Linked DNA regions of Homo sapiens: regions 2, 3, 4, 5 and 6 are each linked to region 1. Evidence: promoter capture Hi-C in 16 types of primary human blood cells and fetal thymus (Javierre and others, 2016). All regions are on one chromosome and are shown on one strand. Each heading gives the region's core, a stretch centred on a gene start or on the middle of the fragment in contact. The rest is flanking DNA. Distances are from core to core; before and after follow the strand shown. Region 1 holds the start of RAB3GAP2 (RAB3 GTPase activating non-catalytic protein subunit 2). Region 2 holds the start of GPATCH2 (G-patch domain containing 2). Region 3 overlaps MIA3 (MIA SH3 domain ER export factor 3). Region 4 overlaps MIA3 (MIA SH3 domain ER export factor 3). Region 5 holds the start of TAF1A (TATA-box binding protein associated factor, RNA polymerase I subunit A). Region 6 has its middle 3.1 kb from the start of TRT-TGT2-1.

Region 1 (2,990 bases), core at 264-2,763:
TTACAGCACATCTGATTCAACTGCCTTTTATAGGTGAAGAACTGATTCCTGTTAACCTGATAACATAGAAATTGCCTATCCTATTTTGTGAAAATCATCCTACTCTAGAAGTAGGAAATAATGGAGTAGGAACCTGGGCACTAAATTATAGTTGTTATATTATTAGGACTAAGTGTGTATGTCCACGGGCCTGACAGAAATGAATGCTCTGGACCCCATCCACTTGCCTTTCATTTGTTCCTGTGCCCTTTTTTCATACAAAGTGGATGGCCTCTTTAGGTTTCCTTTAGGAAATGTGTAAGTGCCTACAGGCCTTTGTGCTCACATTAAAATAATTTTTTTTGTTTTTATTTTTTGGAAAAATAACTTAAAGTCTGCTCAGAGACAGCTCAATTTCTTTATTTTAAAAATGGGATAAGACACACTATTTTTAGATGGCATTTGTGACTATCCAAATGAACAATGTAAAGTACTTTCAAAAATAGTGCTTTGTCAAAGAAACAAGTTATTCTATTTACTTTATGTATGCATTCCATTTATTTCTTCAGCAAATATTTATGAAGCACTTACTAGCATGATCACAATTTCAGTTAAATAGTTAAGTACAGTAGTCCCCCCTTTATCCATGGGTTCATTTTCCACATAATTATTCAATTTAATTATTAGTTATTGTTAATCTTTCACTGTGCCTAATTTATAAATTTAACTTTATCATATATATGTATAGGTAAAAACATAATACACATACATAGGTTTCAGTACTATCCATGGTTTGAGTCATCCACTGGGGATCTTAAAACATATCCCCTTGGATTAAAGGGAAATACTGTAATTAATTGCTTACTGCCTGTATCAGTCACTAGAATTCCAGCTTTCTGGGAAAAGGTACTTCTTCTCTTTTGTTCTCTAATGCTCAGCACCCTGCGTGGCTGGCATTTAAAAGACTAACAAATATTTGTTGAATGGATGGATGAATGCATGAATGAAAAACCAAATGAATAATGAAAACAAAAGTGTATAATACACTATAACACGTACTATATTGGGCTTGCGTAGTACTATGGGAATCTATAGTAGGAGCATTTAAAGCCAGCCTTGACGGGGCTAATCTCCGGAAGAGCAATTAATCTTTTCAAAATCCGACTCTTGCAGGATACGGTCCCCCACTGGCCTGCCACTAGTTTAAAACGAATTAGTTTCTGTGAAACATCAGGATCGTGCCAATAGTAGGGGACCAATAAGACTGAATAAGTCAAAGGGCTGCGCGGACAAGTCCAATTAGAACACCTCTGGCTAAAAGCCAGAATGAATGAAAGGGTTCATGCCTCGGCGTAGACACACAACTGGGACTGAAAAATCTGCCCCAAGCCTCCACGTCGACTTTGGCTCCACCTGCAGCGGCGGCGCCGTAGTCACGTGACCCGGGCCCCCGCGCCCTAGGCGCCTGGGCCAGCCTGCGCCTGCGCAGTACTCGGAGACAGCGGACCCGTGTCAGTGACAGCTTCCGGTTTGGTTTCTCCGCCTTCTGCTTGGCTAGAGCTATTGGGGCTCGGTGGCGGCCGCAGTGGGGTGGAGGGGGCAGGGCGTGGTGAGGTAAGGTGAGTGCCGTAGTGGGGTTCCCTGGAGCCATGGCCTGCTCCATTGTCCAGTTCTGCTACTTCCAGGACCTCCAGGCCGCCCGGGACTTCCTCTTTCCTCACCTGCGGGAGGAGATCCTCAGCGGCGCCTTGCGGAGGGACCCCAGTAAGTGCCTCTCTGGCCTCGCCCTTCCTTCCCTCGTCACCCGCGGCCTCTGCTCACGGGTTCGAGTCTCCTACTCGCTCTGCGCCTCCTGCCTCTGCCCTCTGGACCCCCAGTTCTCCCCGTGCCTCCCCTCCGCTCCGGGATGACACCCTGCCCACCTCGTCCTGAAGCCCCATTTGTGTTGTCTTCCTCTCGACCCAGCTTTTCTCCTTAGGCCCTCTGACCCCTGGCTAAAAACTGCGTCTTGTTTCCTCTCGCCTCTGCCTATCACCGCTTTCTCCCTCCCTCCCCCCACCCCCACACATTCCTAGCTTTCTCTCTGAGTATCTTCTCCGTCTCCCATCTTCAGCCTGGGGTCGTTCCCTGTTTCATGTTGCCTGCTCCGTGATCGCATCCTCCCCGTTCCTTGCCACATGTCAGCGCTCCACTCTGGTATTGCCCCAGCTCCCACTCTCTTCCATCCCGGAGACTGTGGCCTTCTGCTACCTCCCATTCCGAAAGTGTTGATCATCCCCCCACACTCTCCCTTCTTTCATCTGCATTTCCCCCATTCAGATTTTGAGAACAAATGGCTGACAAATGAGTGACTCTTGAGGTAAGACTCTCTCAAAGAAGGAAAATAACCTGTCAGGAAGTGAACGAGAATCTACATTAGGAACTAAAATTACAGTGACATAGCCAAGAAAGGTTAATTTGCTTTATTGAAGCCTTCCACCTATTTTTATCATCAAAGTGTTTAATAAGCCTTTCCCCAAGTAGTATAAAGTTCCAAGGCTGGTTTATTAGATACTATATAGGCTTTCAGAATTTCGTACATTTCATTTTGAAAGGGTGTGCCTTGTGTTTTATTTTATTTTATTTTATTTTATTTTATTTTTGCATTTCCAACCTGAAGCACATTTGGCTTTGTAGTACAGCGCTCTCACTTTGTGCTATACCGGAATGGTGATATAAAGCCCACTAAGCTCCTCTCCCTTTTTTAGAAAATTTAGAAGATATCAAATCGAACCCATCTGTGAATGATTGCATACTTTGTGCCAGTCATTGGTGCTACAAACCAAATAAGGTTGGTGGACCCTGCTGTAGGAACTTCTGGTTTACAGACAAATCATTAACTTCCATTCAGTGTGACTGAGATATACATGAGGCATTTTCTTGAAGTGGTGATACTTAAGCCTACCTTTGAAGTACTAGTTAGAGGAGTAAAGGAGCAGTAATAGCATGTGCAGAGGAAGGGAGGCCTGAAA
Region 2 (2,990 bases), core at 255-2,754, 2.6 Mb after region 1:
AGATATTATCTCATAAAAGAATGTAAAATTGAATTGTGATCAGTGCTGTAAGAGAGGTACGTTGTGAAATAATGATGTAGTAGGTGAGATAAACGTTAGAATAAAAGCAGCTCAGCAAGACCCTATCTCATTGACATATTTTCCATTGGTCTGTCATGTCACTGTATTCCATAATAGTCTAATTCACTTTTTTGCAGTTTCTTTTAAGTTACAAAAACTCCTGGGGCAATGCTTCTTTAAAATGAAACTCTTCCTGGGCAAGAAGTTTGGCTGTAGGGAGATGAAGAAGACTGCTAGTGGTTTTCTTACCCGTTATCTATTAATTAATATATTGGTACTAGTTACCGTGTCAGAATGGTTTAGACACTTTCATTTTATTTTATTTTATTTATATTTATTTATTTATTTATTGAGACAGGGTCTTAATTTGTCACCCAGGCTGGAGTGCAGTGGTACAATGTCGGGTCACTGCAACCTCTGCCTCCCAGGTTCAAGCGATTCTCCTGCCTCAGCCTCCGGACTAGCTGGGATGACAGGCATGTGCCACCATGCCCGGCTAGTTTTTGTATTTTTAATAGAGACGGGGTTTCACCATGTTGTCCTGGTTGGTCTAGAACTCCTGGCCTCAGGTGATTCGCCCCCCTCGGCCTCCCAAAGTGCTGGGATTACAGGCGTGAGCCACCACACCCGGCAGATACGTTCATTTTAAAAAGGCGAATGAGTCATAGAACAATTGAGTTTAGTGATGTTTGTAAAATAACGGAGGCTCAAATCCCTAGGTAGATGGGACACAATCTGAGTTCATTGGGCTAGTGAGTCAGGGTGACCCCCAGTCAGGGTATTGAACATAGGTTTCATCAAATTGCAGAGTGGTGATGTCGAAGAAAAAAAGCACTTTACAATTTTATCTATGCTGGGAGTTTCCTTAAATCATCTCACACTGAATATCTACGGCCCCTCTCTATTTAGAATTTCGTTGTATGGTAACAGAAACTCCCAATTATGTTTGCAGCCCATTAAGGGAAGAATTGGGTACTACTTAATGAATTAGGGTAATCGTTAAATCGTTAATTGGAAACTCCCGCTGAGGAACAACTGGTATAAAGTCACGCCCGCCCTTTACGCGATCCTTCTCTTCCTGACTTACCTGTTCCTAAAGTAGTACTGATTTCCTACAGTCGACGACCTAGCTTGCAGCCGGGCTAACGTGGCCATGGTCTCTTGGCCTTGGGTTTACAACTGGTGTTACTACCGGTCTCCATGGTAACTGGGCTAAACCATAGCTCACTCCCGGGGTTCGACTTTTTGTTCACTCCTCTTTTCTCTCATGCTGCTTTGACTTTAAGAGCACTAAAAAGAGAATTAAGAAATTTCTGTGTAGCACAAAAGTTTAATTTATTTGTCTCTGTCTCTACTGCGAGTAGGAAGAGGGGATTATAGGAAGGGGAAAGCAGTAAACGCGGAGAACTAATGGTTGCTCCGGGCATCCGGTTTCCGCCGCCTGTCGGCTTCCGGAAGCTCATCTCAAAATGCTGAACTGCTCTTTGGAAGTCGCCGGTGCTGTTGTAGTTGGAGTCTGTTCACGGGCCTGAGCTTCGAGGCCAGGCTCCCGGGTGTCGTTAATGTTCGGGGCCGCCGGGCGCCAACCGATCGGAGCTCCAGCAGCCGGGAACAGCTGGTGAGGCTGGCGGCCCTGGGGAGGGGGAGGTCAGGGAAGGGTGTGATTGCCCGAGGCCGCTCCGCTGGACCTGGAATGGAGGCGGGAGGGAGCTGTGATGGATGATCTGAAGACATCTAGGCCTTGCTCTCACTCATTCCTGGGATGCACGCAGTTTGAGGGAGCTCTTGGGTGTGTGCCAAAGATTTGTGAAAGAATACAGTAAATGTTTTCTGATTGCTTGTTTAACAATATTTTAGAAGTCAAGCTTCCTGTACTCCAGGAGCAATTCATCTCCTCATTGATTGTTGACAACACTAGGGACAGGAAGAATTTATCTTAATCCGGGCCTTATTCCCCACTCCTCTTTCAATATTTACCAGATTATACCAAGTCTTTTGGAAGATAAATTCCAGAAATCTAGAGTTCTGGAAGTTCAATCGTGGAAAACACATCACCCTCTCACCCCCTTTTTTAAAGAGAGAGGGTAACCTACCTGTTTCCACCCTCTTGAACATTCTATTCAAGTTAAAGTGAGATATGTATGGGGGCTTTCCAAGAACCTATAACTGTCAGGATTAAGTTTGGGGCTTGACTATGTCTATGGTATCATGTTAGAATAATATATTGCTTTGACTTTTCAAAGTATTTCCACAAATTAATACACTTTATCCTATGACAGCCTTGTGATAGCAGAATATCACAAGCACAGAAAATTCAAGTACCGTGTCCAAAGTTGCCCTGTACATTTTAATCCTAGAGCTAGAATCCTGATTTGGGGATTTCTAGTTGAACACTCTGTATTATCTGTCCTGTTTTTCTCCCAAGCCCTTTTCCTCCAAACATAACATAAGACAACCAGTGACACAAACAAGCAATTTCCCATTGAAAATCCTCAAACATAAAGTTCTGACCAACAGGTGAAAGAAATGTGGCTAAATGGTGCGTGTTCATTCCTAGATTCTGCAAAAATTAGAACATGAGGAATTCTAGTAGTCTGTGATCTCAGATAATTGCTTTTCCATCACCTATCACTGAAAAGTTAAAAGAATACCTTATCCAAAATATTTCTAGTTGGACCTGATCATCCTGTAGTTAATTTTATAGTGAATATAGATTTGATTATACTATTTGTAAATTATTACATTTTCCAGTGAGAAAAGTAGGGAGCATTTTTTAAATGAACCAGTTTTTAATGGTATAACTAGCATAGAATGAAATGCACAATTTTTACAGGCTTAATTTTATTAGTTTTGGCAATTGCATATACTTATGTAAACACCACACAAAACAAGATAATGGATTTGTCCATCACCCCACAGTTCCCTCTCAA
Region 3 (2,990 bases), core at 353-2,852, 2.4 Mb before region 1:
GATTCTAGGGTTAACATTGGAACCATCTCAAAATAATTACAAAGTTTTAGATGGGTTTACAATGTCTTCTAAACAATGTAATCTAAAAATAATTGAGTCAGATGCTAACGAGATACTGCAGGCATAACTGCTGTTTTTCTGACAACTGATTGTGAAACCTTAAAACCTGCATACCTCTTCTTACAGTGAGGAGTATGCAAAATCTGGAAAGATATTCTATTTTTTTTATATAGGTAGATAGGATCGCCATTTATTTCCTATTTAGATATACTGACATTCATCCATATGAAAATATGCAGGTCATTAGCTTACTATAATTTACTTTTGACTTAATGGGGCATAAATAAAACTTTCATAGTACACATGAGGTGGATATTTGATACACAGAACATTTGCGGTGGGCTTTCTGTGGGTTAGATGTAAAGCCCACATATTTTAATATTCACTATTTTAAATGAGCAATGCATGAGGGGAATGCAGTGTCAGTACCTGGCCTATTTTTAAACTAGTGTAATCACCCTAGTCATACCATTCAGTATGTTTGCTTTTTAAAATAAGTAACCACAACTAAGTTGTTGTAGCCCTTGCACTTCAAGAGATCTAGTCTTTACTTTCAGTTGTCTGTTAGGTCCATTCTGTTTACTAGACGGATGTTAATAAAAACTATGCGAGCCTGAATGAATTCTCAGCCAAATTTAGTCTTGTCTCTCATCTTGATTGGATTAATTCCAAATTCTAAAATGATTCAGTCCACAATAGCTCTAGGGGATGAAGAATTTGCCTTACTTTGCCCAGTTCCTAAGACTGTGAGTTGTCAAATCCCTAGACTGTAAGCTCTTCAAGGAGCAAGAGGCGCATTTTCTCCGTGTCATGTAATTTTTCTAAGGTGCTTGGCAGCACTCTGTACCCTGTGGAGTACTCAGTACCTTTTGTTTGATGTTGCTGACAAGACCTGAAAAAAAATCCCTTAAAAAAAAAACCCATTAAAGTGTAGCAAAACCGATGTATTATTTTTTCTCTTTTCTCATAAACCATAAGATATGTATATCAAAATGATAATTTATATGAAGCATCTGCTATCCTTCACATAAGTATAGTTTATATGAACTACAAATACCTTTCATCAACATTAAAGAAGCTTAAATTGAACACTGTGTGATTAACTTAACTTTAATTCAGACCTGAATATAACGAGAAAATGAGTGATTATCTTGAAGTTGACACAGAATATACCACATCCCACGAATTACTTAAATTTACTTTCCAATGAAAAAAATCAGCCATTGGCGATATAACTACAACAACTATGGCAGAAATGCTTTCAGGCTGAATATTGCTGCTTCATAAATAAGACAATTTTAGCAACTAAATCCAGACACAATTAGTTGGAGATGACTTCCAAAATAGATGAAACTTTAGAGATGGAAAAGTGATTTGGCTGAGGGATGATACTCCCTATGCCATCTGCATATTGGCACCCTGCTTTGGGGTTTGCTGCAGAAATGGTGCAATCAGATGGATGTGAGGAAGCAGTTATGGACTGGCTCACAACTTCTCAGAGAAGCTACACTGGAATCTTTACAGCTTACCAGTTTCTCAATTATGTCAGATACAGAATAATCACCAAAAAAGGCTTTAGAGGGGAAAAATACTCTAATATTTTGAATTTTAAAAATAGATTTAATTTACCTTTCCTACTTACCTTCCTAGATGGCATAATCTACACTTAAATGACATTTAAAATTAGAAATTATATTAACTTCAGCATTGTTTTGTGTCCTAAAGAGATATTGACAGGTAAATTCAAAAGTTGTATTTGTGACTTAATCTTATTTTTACATGGCTAAAAGTGGCCTATGCTCTTCTGTGGAGTTTTCCTCTTAATTTCTTCTATTCTTGATATTAAACGGGAGGACATATAGATTGAATTCTCTTTTCCTGAAGAATTTTTATATTCCTTATGAACTTTGACAGAGTTGTCTTCTTTCAAAGGTCCTTATCTTTCTAAACTATCTATCTTCAGTTGTTTAGTATAAAGAGAGAAAATTGTTTCACATTGAAGCTTTTGCTCCTTTTTACAAGGTATTCTTAATCGATTAAATATCACAACAGTGACAAGACATACACTAGGTTTCAAAAATATTACATCATAGGACTTCAAAGAATGGAAGAATATAGCCTAGCAGCAAACAAAAGTATCAGCCTTTTATGATTTTAGTTTTAGTGTGGATCTGAAACTCCTTAAAAGGAGTGCTATTATTACTGTAATTAAAATGTCTGAAGTTCGTTCTTAGAAACGTTGTAGAGTATTTAAAGAAACATTGTTTTAAAGACAGTGTAGTAATGGATAAGACTTTAAGTATGGTGCAATTCCAGATGGTTAGTTACTGATTTTTAAATAAAAACACCAACGTTTAAATATTAATTAATATTAATTTTGGAATAATATCTGTCGCCCCCATTTCCCCCTAAAACAGAACTGATTTCAACCCTTGGTTGCTGACCTAGGGCATGTTATAACCCTCACAGTCCTAAATCATTCTTTCTCATGGCATTATACTCTTCCAATCTTTTTATTATATTCCTCAAAAATCAGTGGCAAGGAATGGGAAAGATAGATAAGGGACTGTACATTTTAAAATTTTTAAAGATTTCTATACTTTTATGGCCATGACACATCATTTTCATTTTTCTGTTGTGCACCCTTTTTCTACAGGAATGGTAAAAACAATGGAACATCAGGTCAAACAACTCTTGCTACTAATGTAAACTCACTCTCAGAAAACCATTCTCAAATAGACAATGAGGATCGTAAAGAAAGCATGTGAATGCTATACAAGTGGGAAATAAACTTCTTTGAAATAAAAAGACGTCACTTGTAGAGTTCACAGGTGACGGAGGAGCAGCCGGAAGTGTGCCACCAGCCACCATCTTCAGTTCTGGGAGCCTGAGTTTACATGTTCCCCAAATGGCACAAGCCTCATAACAGT
Region 4 (2,990 bases), core at 320-2,819, 2.4 Mb before region 1:
ACCAGTCCACAAATCATCCATAAGCTCAGTAAATATACTGTTTACATAATATACTGTATTACTGTATACAATAATTAATATACTGTATACATAATAATTCCAGTATCTAAATCTCACTTATAATACCATTGTTATAGGAATATGCATTCAGAAAATTCCAACATGGAAAGAAATTACTATCTCTCTAATGTCATGGCCTTGCTAATTCCTCTGCTCCATTTCACCCAAACTAACAGGCAAGCAGAGACCAAGGTTCCAAAAGTCAAGTGCTGAGGCTGAGGAACAGCAGTTAGGACACAGAGCCTATATAACTTTCTGAAAAACGAAAAAGGCGTTAGAATTTTTTTATTAACAAATAGGAGAAACAAGAGTGGGAAATGTAAAATGTTTTCAACTTTTCCCCTTCCATTTACCCTTTGATTCTCCCTTTTTATCTGAAGAAAAGCACCAGGAGGTTAGAGAAGGCCTCACAGGAAAAAAGACCCTTCTTTTTAAGTAATTTTACAATCAATTGTGAGAGAAAATTTATTAATGATGATATATGTGATATAATTATGAAATCAGAAAAAGAGTACTCAGTTTTAGAAAGATTTGCATCCAATAATTTTGGCCATTTTAACTGTGAAGTTTCAATACAAAGCTTTTCATCTGCAAAGCTCATTTACACAAATAATCTTCTCCCAATTATGTTAAATAACTATGCAGCTGAATGCTATATAGTATAATCATAAGGATGTACAAGTATGAGTATACACACTTATACAAACATGTTTAAGTCTGAAAGGCAAATTCTGCACAGAAGATAAAAAAATTAACGGTGTGTCTTTACACATGATATAATTTGCATTTCGAAATAAAAAGATATTTTCTGAGTAAAATAGTACATGATGAAATCAGAAAATCTGGAAAATACACATTTTTTAAAAACTGAAAACTTACCTCATCTCCTAGATATAAGAATTTTTATCATTTTATTGTATTTCCTTGCAGCATTTATTTTCTGTGTGTATGTTTATGTAATATACAGTTTATCTATACCTTAAAGTCTTGGTTTCTACTTTTTTTCTACTTCATGTTAAATTGTGAGTATTTGTTGTGCTCCTATGTCTTTGAATTATATAAAGCAGCCTAATATCCCATTATATGAACATACAATAATTTAACAATTTTCCCACTGTGAATCACAGTAGGTTGTGTCAAAGTTTTCACTCTAATAAATACTGTTCTACTGAATGCTCTCATGTAAGATATTTAAAACTTTTTTTTGAGACAGAGTCTCACTTTGTCGCCTAGGCTGGAGTGCAGTGGCATGATCTGCTTCCCCAGTTCAAGCGATTCTCCTGCCTCAGCCTCCCAAGTAGCTGGGATTACAGGCTCCTGCCACCACCCCCGGCTAAGTTTTGTATTTTTAGTAGAGATGGGGTTTTGTCTTGTTGGTCAGGCTGGTCTCAAACTCCTGGCCTTATGTGATCCACCCGCCTCCGCCTCCCAAAGTGCTGGTATTACAGGTGTGAGCCACCACGCCCGGCCATGTAAGATATTTAATGCATGATTGGTTATTTCTTTCTTTCTTTTTTTTTTTTTTTGAGATGGAGTCTCACTCTGTCACCCAGGCTGGAGTGCAGTGGCACATCTCAGCTCACTGCAGCCTCCGCCTCCCAGGTTCAAGCGATTCTCTGCCTCAGCATCCCGAGTAGCTGGGATTACAGGCATGTGCCACAACACCTGGCTAATTTTCGTATTTTTAGAAGAGATGGGGTTTCATCATGTTGGCTAAGCTGGTCTCGAACTCCTGGCCTCAAGTGATCCGCCTGCCTCGGACTCTCAAAGTGCTGGGATTACAGGTGTGAGCCACTGTGCCGGCTGACTGGTTATTTCTTTAGGATCGATTACTAGACATGACATTAATACAATATAAAAGGATATAACCATTTTTAAGGCTTATCATACACATCATGAAACTATTTTTCAGGATGGCTCTAAGAATTCCTAGTTCTACTAACAGTGTACATATGACCTATCTAATTCTTTCTTTTCATCCTTTGTGAGTTGAAATACAGACCCACCTAATTCTTAAAATTTAGACTTTGATATGAGACATATAAACTGAAGTTTTCCCACTGAGATTATACATGTTGTCTTATTCACTTAAGAATTTACCAACACAAAAATTATACTAAATTATTTTACAAGGTTAGCTTGAATTAAAAGCATTAATTTCTGTTCATATTAGAAACTGAAAAAGAAACAAAAGGACTGTGATTATAAAACCATACTTGAATTTATGAGTTAAAGTATGCATTAATTTACTCACAACAAGGACAGTTCTCCATAAGAAAATGGCAAACGAAGCAATTCCCAAGAAGGCAGTGATAAATACAGGTTTCCATGGCAGTCCATAAAAATCAGGCCCAGGCTGAACATCATCAGGCAATGTAGCAACTAGCTGAATGTTAGAAATAATGTTAGAAATAATGAGAAACCTTAAAGAAGCTTACCATAAAGCAGTCACAAAGACTCATTCACAGAAATTCTAAACCAACTCTATCAGATACCTATCCCCTCAAAAATCTTCAGTAGCTCTCACTGCTTTAAGAAAAACAGGATACTGGGAGTCTCATACTTATTGTTTGGCCTGTGGTGTTTTGAAGTACTATGACTCTAAATGTCTTTAGGTTGGGCATATATTTCTAGTTTCAATAGGCCCTGATACAATATGTTATCTAAAACATGGCTGGAATCTCTCTGCATCATACTTTTGTCTTGAATAAATTGGTTTTTATTGCTTAAAAAACCACATAAGACAAAAAACCTTTTATATACAAGTAACTAACTTTTTATGGCTGCAAATAAAACCAATATGATGATAATGAATATCACAAATAACGTTTTATTCCTCTAAGATTTAAAATCTTAAATCGACTTACATAAACAAAGAACAAATGCTGACTAAGTTCGGATAGCTCCTGATAACTGATCTAGATAAACCG
Region 5 (2,990 bases), core at 259-2,758, 2.3 Mb before region 1:
AACTTCGAGGAAAATCTGAAAGCTCTTCCTCATTTTCGGGAGAACATAAACTTTTTTCCATGTAAAATCATTTCTGGGCTGGTTTTGGTGAATTTACACCTCAAGCCAATGGGAGAAAAGTAGCCAGACTAAGCCTCTAGACAAGAAAGTAATGATTATGTATGTTATTTTGTGTGTGGTCTCCTGGACTACGCATAATTTATGTTAGCCCTGCCTGTAGAGTTAGAGCACAAGCTTGAGTGAGGACTCAAGAACTAATGACAGAGAGAGCAGCAGAAGGAACTTTTCTTGCAAGTCCTTAACTACTGCATATTGTTTTATGCAGAAGACAACATAGAATCAACTATTTGTAGCATTTTAAGGAATCCATGTACAAAATTTTTTTTGACAGGGTCTCATTCTGTCGCCCAGGCTGGAGTGCAGTAGGGTGATCACAGCTCACTGCAGCCTCGACCTCCCTGGGCTCAGGTGATCCTCCCACCTCATCCTCCCGAGTAGCTGGGACTAGAGGCATGCATCATCACCCCAGCTTATTTTTTTTTATTTTTATTTTGTAGGGACGGGGTTTCATCATGTTGACTAGGCTGGTTTCGAACTCCTGAGCTCAAACTTTCCGCCTGCCTCGGCCTCCCAAAGGGCTGGGATTACAGGCATGAGCCACCGCGCCCGGCCTCAAACTCTTACCAGACCCTTTAATTTCCTCTCCGATACTCCGATTCTACTCAAACTGTTCACCTACACAGAGGAAACTCAGTGATTCCTGGGGGAGCCTATGCTATATTTGTGCATCCTCATTTGTGGACAAAATTCTTTCTTGCTGTGACTTGAAAGCAGCCTCCCTTTACCTTTCACTTATTAGTCCTAGTTCTGTTCTCTGCTGCTAAGAAAAAGGGTCTGATCCTTCTTTCACTGATCAGCCCTCCAAATATTGGAGAAGCACACTGCGTTTCCATGGGCCTGCAGTCCTTTTCCGGGATCATCTTCCCTAGAACCCCTCAACTGTCTCTCATTTCACACGGTTTAACCATCTTACCTTTAACCCATATTTCATTTGTTTGTCTCAATGTCCCTCATGAAAGTTGACCCAGACGGGTCCGCAGAACAACTTTTGCTGAGAAGGCAAAGGAAATTCTCGCCCAAATTGTGGAGAAGGCAGTCGAACCAATTAAACCTAAAGCTAAAACTGTAATAGAAAAGAACTTTCAAGCTCGCAATGAAAAGGCTATGCATGGATTTATCTCATCACAGCCACTAGCCACACCTCCACTCGTGCAGTGCGCCTGCGAGCCGAGCAGAAACCAATGGCCCATCGTAGTGAATTTCTCGGGTAAAGTGACATTCTCCGCTTTTGAATGCTCCCTTCGCCCAGCCGCCAACCCCTCGCCCCAATTTCCATTTTAAATGAAAGTCTCCCACTTTCTAGCTGAGACAGACAAAAATAAAACTCGGGCAAAACCAATCGCAGAGAGGCAGCTCACTGTCACTTCCTGGGTCACTTCCAGAAGTCACTTCCGGGGTCGAGGCGAGGCCAACGATACGCCTGCTGCAGCAGGAGGAGTTACGAGCCGGGCCGCGCGCTGCCTAAATACCTAAACCAGGTTTAGCGCCTGCTCATATAAAGCTCTCCTAACTCGTCTTCCGGTGGGAATTTCTTCACGTGGGCCGGAGTCGGAGACTGAGTTTAGCTTTACTGAGGAGCTCTAAATTTAGGCGGGTAAGTGCCGCAGATATCGCCCGTGGTTCCTGCGTTTAAATGGAACGGGAAGGGGTGTGTCAGGATTCATCCATGTTCTCCTGATATTTCCTCCTAATACCTGAAACCCTTGGGGTCTGAAAACGAAAGAAGGGGATAGAGAAGCTTTGGTTGCCGTGGCAACTGCGGGTCACCAATTTGGGTTTTTGAGGATTTGGAAAGGGAGGATTTGTGTAACTACTCCTGAAAACACGTGATGGGTCGGATTCAAATTCAGTTGTTACTTATAATTCATACTCCTAGCCACATGCTTTGAATTTAGAAGGTTTACTCTGGGTATAATGCAGAGATGCAAAATCTGAGCCAGGGTAATTGTTTAGAAAGCTGATGCGGTAATCTAGGCACTGTTTGAAGGGGTCTTGAACTAGAGTAGTGCTGTAGGATTGAAGAGGGGAAATAGGGGAAATTTGGAGGTAGTATCAGGGGCACTAATACTCGATTTCATATGGGTAATGAGGAAGGGGCCCTGAGCATCTTTAGGAGTAAGTCTAAACTCACCTTGGCTTATGATGATTTTTCTAGGTTCGTTTCTCACCTTCCGCACCCCTCCTCCACACGCACCTCGAATTCTAGTCATGCCAAGTAGTTTGGTGTTCTATTTCCTAGACTATCGTCCTCACCATTTTTTGTGATGTTAGGCAGGTTCCATCATTTCACTAAGCCCCTCAGTTTTTTCAACCTTCACATGGAAGAAAGTAATAGTACCCACCTCAGGATTGCTGTGGGGATTAAATTAGATAATTTATACTTCTAGTGCATAGTAAGGGCCTAATAAATATTAGCTGCTACTTCTATTCTTACTGTACTTTTCATATTGTTTTGTTATTATACGTTTTGCTGTTTCTTCGTCTAGACTTGAGATTTTTTAAATTAGAGGGGCAGTATCTTATTTATCTTTACATGGACTTGAAACATTAGTGGTTCGGTCTTTAATGGATCATTCATTTTGGCTGTTGCTGACATAGTTAAATTCATTTTTTACTTTAAAAGAGCTGACAGGTATAATGCATTTTGCTAATCAAATTATATTTATTAGATAAAAAGATAGCCGTTTTTCTGTACAACTCAGAAGACTGTGGATTAAGATGTACAGAAAGTAACTGATATCTCATCTTGTAATAGGTATGAGTGATTTCAGTGAAGAATTAAAAGGGCCTGTGACAGATGATGAAGAAGTGGAAACATCTGTGCTCAGTGGTGCAGGAATGCATTTTCCTTGGCTTCAAACATACGTAGA
Region 6 (2,990 bases), core at 158-2,657, 2.2 Mb before region 1:
TCGCACATGGTTCCTTCCACCTGAAACATATAAGCCTGATTTTAATGTCTTATGTTGTCTTGGCAAGAGCCTTAGAGAGCTGGCTTATTTTCCATCTCAGAGGCGATTTTGAGGAGTGTATTAGTTTGCTAGGGCTGCTGTAACAAAATACCTCACACTAGGTGACTTAAACAACAGAACTGTATTATCTTCTAGCTCTGGAGGCTAGAAGTATGAAATCAAGGTGTTGATAGGGCTGGTTCCTTCTGAGGGCAGTGAAGGAAGGATCTCCTTGGCTTGTAGATGGCCATTTTCTCCTTGTGTCTCCTCACATCATCTTCCCTCTATGTATAGCTCTGTATCCAAATTTCTCCTTTTTATAAGGACACCAGTCAGATTGGGTTAGGGCCCACCCTACTGACCTCACTTTAACTTGATTACCTATGAAAAGACTCTTTCCAAATAAGGTCACATTCTTAGGGACTGGGTCTTAGGACTTCAACAAATGAATTTTGAATTTCCCTTCTTCCATTCCCTTGAGTTGGCACAGCACCACCCTCGACCCCTCCTCCCAATACTGATGCACGTTATCTCCCAGCAGCAGGAGGTAGCATGTGATAGACAAATGGAACCTCTCCTCTTTTCAATTCCAATTTCTGTACTGTAAGAAAAAGGACACAAAGTTAAATGGTAAGATGAAATAAAGATAAAGTAGACATCCTATAAAGACTGTAAAATGGAGGTGATAATTTTGGCCTCTCTGTTTCAGAGCATTTTGAGGGATTCAACACAATAGTGAACCTGAGAGTGCTAGGAAACTGTGAAATGCCAGAAACGAACATAAAAGGGAATGTTCTTCAAAGGTTGAGCATTTACTTCTGGTCTATGGTCAACCCTCAGCAGAAAACCACGTGGAGAGATTCCAGCTTCTGGCACTGCCAGGAGGGAAGGCATCCCACGGTCCAGTTTTGTTGGGAGGGAAAGGAGATGAAAACTAGTAAGTCCCAGCCACATCCCTCAGCTGTTTTGTGTGTTAAAGGGACTTCTTTTTGCCTTAAGAAGATAGTTGCTTTGCTTTCTCACCTCCTTCACCCTCATTCTGTCCTTTGTCCCCTGCCTACATCCTCTCCCCTTCCCCATAGAATCCCTGGTATCCCTGAGGTGGTGGGAAACAGAAGACAGCCCAGGAAGGCTCTCCCACCCACTTGGTGTAGGGGCTGTCTGGCTCTCCTCTGAGTCATTGTCCCACGTGCATCCTCTCCTCCTGGGAGCAGACCTTCTACTGTCCTGTCCAAAGTCAGACTCAAGGTCAGAGGGTATGAGGATGTAAGGGCCAGAAGGAACCTTTGAGCTTATCTAGTGCCAGAAAAAAGCTGCGACTTCATGAGAAGAAGGAACTTGAACTTCATCATGGGTGAAATGATGTGCTAGGAACATTTCTAATCTTTTCTACTAGCTATTTTGAAATATACAATACATTATTGATAATTATAGTCACCCTACTGTGCCATCGAACACTAGAACTTATTCCTTCTATCTAACTGTATGTTTGTACCCATTGACCAACTGTATTAGTCTGTTCTCATGCTGCTATACAGAGCTGCCCGAGACTGAGTAGTTTACAAAGGGAAGAGATTTGATTGACTCACTGTTCCACAGGGCTAGGGAGGCCTCAGGAATTTACAATCATGGCAGAAGGGGAAGCAAACAAGCAAACATGTCCTTCACATGGCAGCAGGAAGGAGGAGTGCCGAGCAAAACTGGGGAAAAGCCCCTTATAAAACTATTGGATCTCATGAGAACTCACTCACTATCACGAGAATAGCATGAGGGTAATCATCTCCATGATTCAGTGACCTCCCATGAGGTCCCTCCCCCAACACATGGGGATTATAATTTGGATTACAACTCAAGATGAGATTTGGGTGGGGACACAGAACCAGAGTATATCACCAACCTCTCTTCAGTCCCCCTTCCCAGCCTCTGAAAATTACTTAACTTTTGAAGCTCCTGTTCACCTGGGAAGTGGAGCTAGGAGGGTACACACTTTCAGGATATAATGTGCTGCTGGGTGCAAAGAGGTCAGCACAGGTCCAGCCTCACCTCCCTTCAGGGACTGCCCACCTGGACCTGTGCGGCCAGGTTCACTTTCCTGCCTGCCCTTCGATTATGGTAGAGGAGCTTTATCTCTCCCCAGTGAGAGCCCTCTTTTTTTTTTTTTTTTTTTTTTTTTTTTTTTTTTTTTTTTTTTTTTTTTTTATGAGACAGAGTCTTGCTCTTGTCGCCCAGGCTTGAGTGCAGTGGCATGATCTCAGCTCGCTGCAACCTCTGCCTCTGGGTTCAAGCAATTATCCTGCCTAAGCCTCCTGAGTAGCTGGGATTACAGATGCCTGCCACCATGCCCGGCTGATTTTTGTACTTTTAGTAAAGACGAGGTTTTGCCATGTTGGTCAGGCTGGCCTCAAACTTTTGACTACAGGTGATCTGCTCACCTCGGCCTCCCAAAGTGCTGGGATTACAGGCATGAGCCACCAAGCCTGGCCCAGTCCTCTCTTCCCTCTGAGGACCCCTGCAGGACCACTATGCCCTTTATCCCTGGGACACTCAACCTCTCATGCTCAACTGGATCCTTCCCGTCTGCTTCTGTGTCTCTCTCGTGGAAAATAAAATAAAATAAAATAAAAACTGCCCTTCAACTCCAGTGAGTTGTCCCCACACATTCACTCTGACCCTTACCTTTCACACATTCCACTTGCCCCATCTGTCTTCTGGCCCTACAGCTCCACCAAAATGACCCTCATTGGCACTAGGTAAGCTCTATGTGGGTGAAGCCTTGGTGTCTTGGCAGCACGTGGTGCCGATGACTGCTTTTCCTCCTAAAACTCTCTCTTCCACTGCCTTCCTGACCCATACATACCCCAAGGGCCTGCCCACCTCCCAGGAACCCACTTCTCAGCTTTGCAGACTCACCTTCCATGAGAGCAGAGGGTGAGCACACAAGGCCCTGGGGG

What was found. The method cuts DNA at HindIII sites, captures the fragments that hold promoters and counts their contacts. A CHiCAGO score of 5 or more calls a contact.
Region 2: a contact is called between the fragment with the promoter of GPATCH2 here and the fragment with the promoter of RAB3GAP2 in region 1, in 4 of 17 cell types (total CD4 T cells, non-activated CD4 T cells, total CD8 T cells and 1 more). The highest score is 8.5, in total CD4 T cells.
Region 3: a fragment that was not itself captured here is called in contact with the fragment with the promoter of RAB3GAP2 in region 1 in 1 of 17 cell types (total B cells); the score reaches 5.3 in total B cells.
Region 4: a contact is called between a fragment that was not itself captured here and the fragment with the promoter of RAB3GAP2 in region 1, in 2 of 17 cell types (monocytes and naive B cells). The highest score is 10.8, in monocytes.
Region 5: a contact is called between the fragment with the promoter of TAF1A here and the fragment with the promoter of RAB3GAP2 in region 1, in 5 of 17 cell types (activated CD4 T cells, naive CD8 T cells, total CD8 T cells and 2 more). The highest score is 7.8, in activated CD4 T cells.
Region 6: a contact is called between a fragment that was not itself captured here and the fragment with the promoter of RAB3GAP2 in region 1, in 1 of 17 cell types (total CD8 T cells). The highest score is 6.2, in total CD8 T cells.

Annotation. Positions count from the first base shown.
Region 1 is chr1:220,270,976-220,273,965 of GRCh38, reverse strand. It overlaps RAB3GAP2 (RAB3 GTPase activating non-catalytic protein subunit 2), which reads left to right and starts at 1,513. Exons shown (of 35, transcript NM_012414.4): 1 at 1,513-1,743. The coding sequence starts at 1,629. RefSeq lists an enhancer at 2,918-2,990. The HindIII fragment of the contact is 3,718 bases long and covers 1-2,990 here.
Region 2 is chr1:217,629,604-217,632,593 of GRCh38, reverse strand. GPATCH2 (G-patch domain containing 2) reads left to right here and starts at 1,504. Exons shown (of 10, transcript NM_018040.5): 1 at 1,504-1,678. The coding sequence starts at 1,623. SPATA17 (spermatogenesis associated 17) reads right to left here and starts at 1,250. Exons shown (of 11, transcript NM_138796.4): 1 at 1,148-1,250. The coding sequence starts at 1,215. RefSeq lists enhancers at 1,226-1,465, 1,496-1,565. The HindIII fragment of the contact is 9,292 bases long and covers 1-1,927 here.
Region 3 is chr1:222,666,172-222,669,161 of GRCh38, reverse strand. MIA3 (MIA SH3 domain ER export factor 3) reads right to left here. Exons shown (of 28, transcript NM_198551.4): 28 at 1,155-2,990. It overlaps AIDA (axin interactor, dorsalization associated), which reads left to right. Exons shown (of 10, transcript NM_022831.4): 10 at 1-1,149. Among named protein-coding and RNA genes, the nearest start is that of AIDA, 45 kb to the left of the region's middle. The HindIII fragment of the contact is 924 bases long and covers 1,141-2,064 here.
Region 4 is chr1:222,645,010-222,647,999 of GRCh38, reverse strand. MIA3 (MIA SH3 domain ER export factor 3) reads right to left here. Exons shown (of 28, transcript NM_198551.4): 7 at 2,315-2,446. Among named protein-coding and RNA genes, the nearest start is that of MIA3, 28 kb to the right of the region's middle. RefSeq lists an enhancer at 2,944-2,990. The HindIII fragment of the contact is 1,853 bases long and covers 643-2,495 here.
Region 5 is chr1:222,588,451-222,591,440 of GRCh38, reverse strand. It overlaps TAF1A (TATA-box binding protein associated factor, RNA polymerase I subunit A), which reads left to right and starts at 1,508. Exons shown (of 11, transcript NM_005681.4): 1 at 1,508-1,714; 2 at 2,876-2,990. The coding sequence starts at 2,878. It overlaps TAF1A-AS1 (TAF1A antisense RNA 1), which reads right to left and starts at 1,521. Exons shown (of 3, transcript NR_110613.1): 1 at 1,479-1,521; 2 at 1,034-1,183. RefSeq lists enhancers at 475-1,007, 1,008-1,541. The HindIII fragment of the contact is 1,624 bases long and covers 237-1,860 here.
Region 6 is chr1:222,460,389-222,463,378 of GRCh38, reverse strand. No RefSeq gene overlaps it. Among named protein-coding and RNA genes, the nearest start is that of TRT-TGT2-1, 3.1 kb to the left of the region's middle. The HindIII fragment of the contact is 4,058 bases long and covers 1-2,990 here.